2 separate regions of the Homo sapiens genome follow, and region 1 is linked to region 2. Evidence: promoter capture Hi-C in 16 types of primary human blood cells and fetal thymus (Javierre and others, 2016). All regions are on one chromosome and are shown on one strand. The core of a region is centred on a gene start or on the middle of the fragment in contact, and the rest is flanking DNA. Distances in the headings are between cores, read along the strand shown. Region 1 overlaps DNASE1L3 (deoxyribonuclease 1L3). Region 2 holds the start of KCTD6 (potassium channel tetramerization domain containing 6).

What was found. Contacts are between HindIII fragments. The CHiCAGO score rates a contact against its expected background, and 5 or more counts as called.
Region 1: a fragment that was not itself captured here is called in contact with the fragment with the promoter of KCTD6 in region 2 in 1 of 17 cell types (naive B cells); the score reaches 6.9 in naive B cells.

What each region holds. Positions count from the first base shown.
Region 1 is chr3:58,194,477-58,198,394 of GRCh38, forward strand. DNASE1L3 (deoxyribonuclease 1L3) reads right to left here. Exons shown (of 8, transcript NM_004944.4): 6 at 3,345-3,502. Among named protein-coding and RNA genes, the nearest start is that of DNASE1L3, 15 kb to the right of the region's middle. RefSeq lists an enhancer at 2,094-2,273. The HindIII fragment of the contact is 1,894 bases long and covers 515-2,408 here.
Region 2 is chr3:58,489,182-58,493,414 of GRCh38, forward strand. KCTD6 (potassium channel tetramerization domain containing 6) reads left to right here and starts at 2,915. Exons shown (of 3, transcript NM_001128214.2): 1 at 2,915-2,988. RefSeq lists a silencer at 2,566-3,215. The HindIII fragment of the contact is 5,155 bases long and covers 1-3,442 here.

The sequences.
Region 1 (3,918 bases), core at 212-2,711, 300 kb before region 2:
GCCTGGCTAATTTTTGTATTTTTAGTAGAGACGGGGTTTATCCCTGTTGGCCAGGCTGGTCTTGAACTCGTGACCTTAGGTGATCCGCCCACCTCAACCTCCCAAAGTGCTGGGATTACCGGTGTAAGCCACCGCTCCAGGGCTACGGCTTTTTTTTTTCTTTTTTTGAGACGGAGTCTCTCTGTGTCACCCAGGCTAGAGTGCAGTGGCGCAATCTCGGCTCACTGCAAGCTCTGCCTCCTGGGTTCATGCCATTCTCCTGCCTCAGCCTCCCGAGTAGCTGGGACTACAGGTGCCCGGCACCACGCCTGGCTAATTTTTTTTGTATTTTTTAGTAGAGACGGGGTTTCACTGTGTTAGCCAGGATGGTCTCGATCTCCTGACCTCGTGATCCACCGGCCGCAGCCTCCCAAAGTGCTGGGATTACAGGTGTGAGCCACCACGCCCGGCCCGGGCTACGGCTTTTAATTCAACCCAAATGTAAATTCTTCGCATCAAGTTAGACATTTGTGAAAGCTTTCTTTAAGACTCAGAAAGCAAAGAATGACATGTTAAAGGCTCTTCCATTTCTGACTTCTTCTAGGGATGTGCAGGACCAGGCCAGTGTTCATGTGACGTTTTCAGTCCAGGGCACCAGCCAGATCCTGGGCATCTTTGCATGTTCCCCCAGCACTCAGCACATGAGAGGTGTTTGATAAATATGTGAACATGGAACAAAGACTGGAACTGAGACCATCTTGTCTAATTACATTTTTAAAACATCATTTTTATGGCTTTTCATTTTCTCCGTTTATTTTATTTAATTTTACTTTTTATTTTATTGTATTGAGACAGGTCTCACTATGTTGTCCAGGCTGGAGTGCCGTGGCTATTCACAGGCATGTGATCATGTTGCTCTAAAGCCTTGAACTCCTGGGCTCAAGTGATCCTCCTGCCTCAGCCTCCCAAGTAGCTGGGATTACAGCATATGCCACCACAACTGGCCTATGACTTTTTAAAAGCCACAAGAGGCCGGGCATGGTGGCTCACACCTGTAATCCAAGCACTTTGGGAGGCCAAAGCAGGCGGATCACCTGAGGTCACGAGTTCAAGACCAGCCTGGCCAACATGGCGAAACCCCATCTCTACTAAAATTACAAAAAAAAAAAAAAAAAAAAAAAAAAGCGGGGCATGTTTGTGTATGCCTGTAATCCCAGCTACTTGGGAGGCTGAGGCAGGAAAATCGCTTGAACCCGGGAGGCGGAGGTTGCAGTGAGCCAAGATCCTGCCACTGCACTCCAGCCTGGGCGACAGAGCAGGACTCTGTCTCAAAAAAAAGAAAAAAAAGAGGCACAAGAGTTATACATGTTGTTATGAGAAACAAAATTCAGAGCATCAAAATAAGAAATGAATCTTTAAAATGTCACATGTAATCCCACCATCCTTTGGGATACATGTGTATAAAATCAGGATCCTTTTAGTAAACATCTTTTTCTAACCTGTTCTACCCCTGACCTGATCTACTGTGGCCATGTTGCCTTCTGATTCTTCTGTATCATTTTCAATCACTTCCCACTCATTTGCCAGGGGAGAAGAATGGCGCTGGAGAAGGGACTTGACCTACCCACGGGCACACAACTGCCATGTGTAACTGAGTGAGTGGCCATCGTCCAGGCTTTGCTGGAAGTCCTTCAAAATAGGGGGTCTGGGCACTTAGACCCCTGTAACTCCCCGCCTTGGGTTCCCACTTTGCAGAGTGATAACTTCTGCAAAGGAAACACCAGCCTCAAAAGCTCCAAGAGGAACAGGCCGGGCATGGTGGCTCACGCCTGTAATCCCAGCACTTTGGGAGGCCGAGGCGGGCGGATCACGAGGTCAAGAAATCAAGACCATCCTGGGTAACATGGTGAAACCCTGTCTCTACTAAAAATACAAAAAAAAAAAAAAATTAGCCAGGCGTGGTGGCGGGCGCCTGTAGTCCCAGCTACTCGGGAGGCTGAGGCAGGAGAATGGCGTGAACCCGGGAGGCGGAGCTTGCAGTGAGCCGAGATCGCACCACTGCACTCCAGCCTGGGCAACAGAGCGAGACTCTGTCTAAAAAAAAAAAAAAAAAAAAAAAAAACTCCGAGAGGAAGTGAAAACGAGTGGCCTGGTGGCTCTCATGCAGATGGCCATCTCACACTTCCTCGTGGCAGGCTGAGCTCTGGGAACTGTGGCCACCACCTGGGACCAGGCTCCTAGGGGTTTCCCCACCTGTGGTCTCTGTGATGGAAGATCACTAACATTCACACGCCTCAGGCACTCCCCCCTCTGTCCCCATTGAAGGAGCAAAGATGAAAGCTGTTTGAAAATCCCTGAAGGGACTTTAAAAAGCACGAGGGAATGCTAGGACTTAAATGTATGCATTGCATTTAGGAATATGTAGCTAAAGCTTTAAAAATATAAATACCGTTGCACTAATTGGTCTCATTTTTAGGGTTGCTTCCTGAGGAAATCATAAATACTTGCACAAAATGCACAGAGGATATTGATTTTAGCAGTATTTATAACAGCAAACCCTTGGTAATAACCCAATGCCTAATGATGGGGATTGGGCGCATCAATTGCGGTAAGTCTTTGTGATGGAACAATGATCAGCCCATGAATGTAATGAGCACTTGCCGTATGCCAGGCATTGTGCTAGCAGCCTGACATGTTATTTCATTTACTCCACATCGGATCTTCATGAGTGAGGCACTAGGATAACTTCCATTTTACAGGGGAGGAAATGAAAGACACAGAGAGCTTGTCTCTTGGTCACAGACATATGAAGTGATAATGTCAGGATTTAAATCCAGGCCTATCTGATAGCGAAGCCAGTGCTTACCTCTGCTAAGCTACAGTGCCCAGGGCCACCGCATAGGGTCCTGTGGTTCATACGCTACATGTGGTACCCAGTAGAGGGGCCTGACATTTAATTGACTCAGCTCTGCAAGCAGTGTGCTTTTCTTATTTTTATTTTTATTTTTTATTTTTGAGACAAAGTCTCACTCTGTTACCCAGGCTGGAGTGCAGTGGTGCGATCCTGGCTCACTGCAGCCTCCACCTTCTGGGCTCAAGCGATCCTCCCACCTCAGCCTCCTGAGTAGCTGGGAGTATAGGTGTGTGCCACCATGCCTGGCTAATTTTTGTATTTTTTGTAGAGACGGGGTTTCATCATGTTGCCCAGGCTGGTCTCAAACTCCTGTACTCAAGCGATCCATCCATCGAGGCCTCCCAAAGTGCTAGGACTACTGGCGTGAGCCACAGTGCCCAGCCACCTTGCGTCTTTCCTAGTGCACACCAAGCACTGTGGTGAGCCAGCAGCACCCTGCAGGGCCTCCTACCTGTCATATGCACAGTTGGTGCTCTTCTTCACCGTGGTGTCCTCTTGGTCCCCGATCAGCCAAACAAACCTGGGGTCAGTCCTCAAGCGGATGTTCTTCCAGGCCTTCTTGGGGACGTAGCTGCAGCCGGCATTGAAGTCACCCATGAAAATGAAATTCTAAAAGACAAGATTTGGAACTGTCACCTGGTGGGTGCTGCTGCAGAATGCTTTCACACTGGACTCTAGCAAAGACTCTGCGTCCCAGGCCCAGTAAACAACAGGGTCTGTTATGGGCTGAATCTTGTCTACCCCCTGCTCCCGCCCCGGCCAAATTCCTATGTTGAAGTTCTAACCCCCAGCACCTTAGAATGCGACTGTATTTGGAGATAGAACCTTTCAAGAGGGAATTAAGGTAAAATGAGGTCATATGGATGGGCTCTAATCCAATATGACTGGCGTTCTTGTAAAAAGGGGAAATTAGGACACAGAAAAGTGGAGCAAAGACCATGTAAAGACACTGGAAGAAGATGGCCGTCTACAAACCAAGGAGAGAGGCCCCCAAAAGACACCAGCCCTGCTGGCACACCTTGTTC
Region 2 (4,233 bases), core at 1,665-4,164:
TGTAGCTGCAATAATAAACAGCCCCCTCCAGGTCAGCCTGGCCCCAGGGCAGACCAGGATCAGTATCTTTACCACAGGAGCCTGGATACTTGGTGGCCACCTGGAAAAGAAAGGTGCAGAGGGTCAGGGGCAGCTGTAAACCAGAAGCCAGCCTTCCCCAGCAGGCTTGCAACCCTGAGCTCTGTGGAGGCAAACAGCTTCCAATATAAACCCTTTCCACCCCCAACCCCCCAAACCAACAGATCCAGATGGTTTGCGGGAGAATCCTATAGAACATTCAAACTACAGAAAATCCCAGTCTAGTGAATAGACACTCATTCCTTAAGGTATGTTATGAGGCTCATGTAACTTTGATAGCAAAGCCAGACGAGGAGAGAATAAGCAAATAGTAGCATATCTCAGTCATCCACGTGGATACAAAAACCCTAAATGAAATATTAGCAAATGGAACCCTAAATGAAATATCAGCAAATGGAATCTAGCGGTATACTGAAAAAATAATACATCATGACGTGTGAAATTCCTTGAATAAAAATGCATTGACTTAAAAAAATACATTATCAAGGCGAGTTTATCCCGGGAATACATGGATGGTTTAATATAGTAAGATCCATGGTTGTAATTCATTACATTGCAATGGGGGGAATCTCACATTGATAAAATTCAGCACCCATTCATAGTAAAGAAGAATAGTGCTTCCTTACCCTGATAAAGAATATCTATCAAAAAATCCACAACAAACACTATAGTTAATGGTGATATGTTACAAGCAGTCAAGAACAGGATAAAAATGCCCATTACCATCACTGCTCTTCAACATTGTGTGAGAGAATTTAGTCAGCACAGTACAGCAAGAAAAAGGAAAAAAAGGACAGGAAGATACCACACTGTTATGACTTGCAGACTCTATGATTATTTGCACAGCGAATTCAAGAGAACCTACAAACTTATTAGAACTGAAAGAGTTCACTTTTGCTGAATATAAGATTATATAAAACCCAACTGCATTTCAATAGCCATCTATCAATTATAAAATACAAAAGTGAAAGTACAATTAGCACTAGTTATAAAAATTTTAAGATAGGAGGGACTAGGTCTGACAAAATCACCAACAAAATTAATCCATCAGTTTTTATATGGGGAAATAGAAGCCCTGAGAGGGGAAATGACTCTTTCAAGGATACCCAGTAAATCAGAGGCAATTCTGGGTTTTCAGTGGCACCAAATTCTGGAGATCTGAGTATTGGGTAATTTTGGTATTGTCCTTCTATTAAAAAACAACAAAACCCAGTGGGGTGGGGAGGAGTGGGGGGCAAAAAAAAAAAAAAAGAAAAACCAAACCAAAACTCATTGTATTTTTCTGATTATAAATTCAATATTTATGTGTTCTGATTATAAATTCAATATTCATGAAAATTCAGAAGAACGTTATGAAGTAATGCCATTAACATTCCCATACTGTTATCTTGAACACGATGGTCAATGGTTTGATGTATTTCCTTCAAAATTTTTGTCTGTATATATTTATGTTTTTAAAAATAAAATCAGGATATCATGTGTACTAGTTTGTGTATTGATCATTTTCACACACATTTCCCTGTATTCTCACCTAGTCTTTGTGAATTTGATAATGTAGCACTCAGTTATGTTGATGAAGCATATGTCATTTATTTAACCTATCAATTTGAGCTTTTGGAGACAAATCAAGTATCAGATATAACTGTGATGATCATGCTGATACAATTTCAACCCCAGAGCTAGCTCACACACATGCAGACGTGAAACCCAAGTGAGTTTCTAAGGCCAGTGGTTATTCTGGTGGAGAAGGTTAAACCCAGCATCAGGTAACTGGTCCCACCGGAAGGGGACAGTGGCCTGGCTAGCAGGAAGTGAATGGACTTGGAACGAGTGGACGGATGGAGACCAATTAGCCCTGAGGCGTTAGGTGCTGCCCATCCTCTGCAGCCTTGGCTTCCTTCCTGGTGAAGTGGGGACAATACCAGCGCCAGTCTCATCTAGGGTCGAGCTCCTCCAGGCCCCAGAGCCTTTGCATGGGTCGTTTTGTCTGCTGAAGGTAGCTCTGCCCTTCTCTCCACCTGGCTGCCCGTGTTGCTGAGCTTCTGGGCCCAGCAGCCCTTTGCTGTCTTGCCCGTCAGGCCGGACCAGACCGTCTTGCCCCGGTGGCCCCGGGGGCTTCTTCACAGGCCTCATCGCAGGGTTGTCTCCCCAATGCAGGGCAGGCAGGAGGAGCTCTGGCCGCAGGTCGGGGTCCAGGTCTTCCTCGGCCACTGCGTTTGGAGCAGGGGCTCCCTTCCCTTCTTCTCCATCTAAGTCCTCTAATCATGTCCCTCCCAACACTTACGGCCATAACTTGTCATTATTTTGTCTATTAGCTGTTTCCTTGAGTCTTGTCTGTCTTCTCCTTTGATTAGGACCCGCCTCCGTCTTGGTGGCCGCTGTATCTCCTAAACCCCCAGGCCTGAGATATAGTGGGGGGCCCATACAAGTTCGTGAAATGACTAAGGAGAAACAGCTGTGGAGGCACCACCCCTGAGGACGCAGTGGGCCTGGGGTTGGGCGGACCCCAGGCTGCGGGCGGAGGCGGGACGTAGGGGCGGGGTTTCGGGGCTTCGGAGCGGAGCCTAAGGGGCGGGACTGGGGCTTCGGGGCGGGGCTTCGGGGCTGCGGTCGTGTGGTCTTGACCGCGCGGCTCCGACTGCGCTGGCTGAGTTCCTCAGGCCGCCCGCTCTCTGGCTTCCAGCCCGCGCTGCCGTTAGGGGGCGCCCGCGCTCGTGGCGCCGCGGCTCTGCTGGGAAGGCGCCGCCCGCGCCGGGCAGCTGGAGCCGCAACTCCGGGCGCGGGCTCAGTCGTCCCCTCTGCCGCCGCCGCCGCCGCCGTCGCCGGGCGCGGGCTCGCTTGTCCCCGCGCTCGCGCTCTCCGGCCGCGGGCATCTCCCGGCCCGGCCGCAGCAGCCGCCGCCGCCGCGCAGTGAGTGGGGCTGGCGCGGGGCTTGCGGGGCCGGGGTTTGGGAGGGCCGGGTTTCAGGAGACGTCTGCGCCGAGCGGCCAGGGGAGCGGGGCTGAGGAGGATCTGGGCGGGGGCTCCTGGAACGGGGCGGCGGCGGGGCCGCGTTGAGGGGACCGCGCGTCCCGGGCTGGCACGAGCCAGCAGCGGAGGTGCCCGCGGCGGGGCCTGGGCGGGGGTTCCGGGGCCCGCCCGGCGGGGATGCGCGGTTTCTGCGGGCCCGGGTTCGGAGCCCCGCGGCGCGCCCCTCGTCCGGGCCCGGAGCATCGCCCGCCCTACCCCTGGCCGGGTCGGGTTGCGGGGGCTTCGCTGGCGGGGCAGCAGCGAAGGGCGGCCCGGACGGAGATATTTGGGGTGTGCTCGAAAATGATTGTTTTTGGGAGATGGCGCTTATTAGCCACCAATTGCCCTAGTTTAAAGCTTGAGGCAGGACTCAAAACCCTGCCTTTGGGATTTTCTGCCCTGAAGAGACTCTCAGATCGCAGCTGAGTTCTTTATGCCTAGATTTGTGTGTGTGTGGTGGCGTTTTTAATGCTTGATGTCAGAGGTGATAAATGGCCATGGTAATGGGGAGCCCTGGCAGCACCTGCTGGGCTGACAGTGGTGGAGGCTGTGTCTGGGGGTGGGACGGGGAAATGAAACGTGACAGAGATCCTGTTTGGATATTCTGCCGAAGTTACCATGTTTCTGTTCAAGTATACCAGTTCTAGAACAAGTTGATGGATCCAATTTTAGGACTTTGTGATAGAAGAGGTTTGGGTGGCAAAGTGACCTGGGATGACCCGGCTCGGCTAAGAATATTTGGGGTAGCCTAAGTATCTCTTCTATATCCCCCTGGCATGTTCTTTTTTTCGCTGTCACAAATGCCCTATTACTTGAATCATCCTGGGATAGGAGAGAAGCTTGGGGACAGCATGTAGCACAGTCCTGAGCCCAAGATTGAGATGTTTTCAAATGAACGAATATGTAGCTAGGAAAAGGAAAATGTGTTTGTCAGCAGGGTTGGTAGGTTGAGAGTATTTTCTCTTTGGCCGAAACCATCAGTCCATACTGATACTTGATTTTGTGCTATGCCTTAGATATGAACGATGGAGTGGTCAGGATAGCCATGGATGCCATTCCAAAGTTTTGTGATTTGAATTTTCATAAATCATATTTTAACCAAAGCATTACTACTTAAAGGAATCTTAGGGTGAACCCTATGAATCC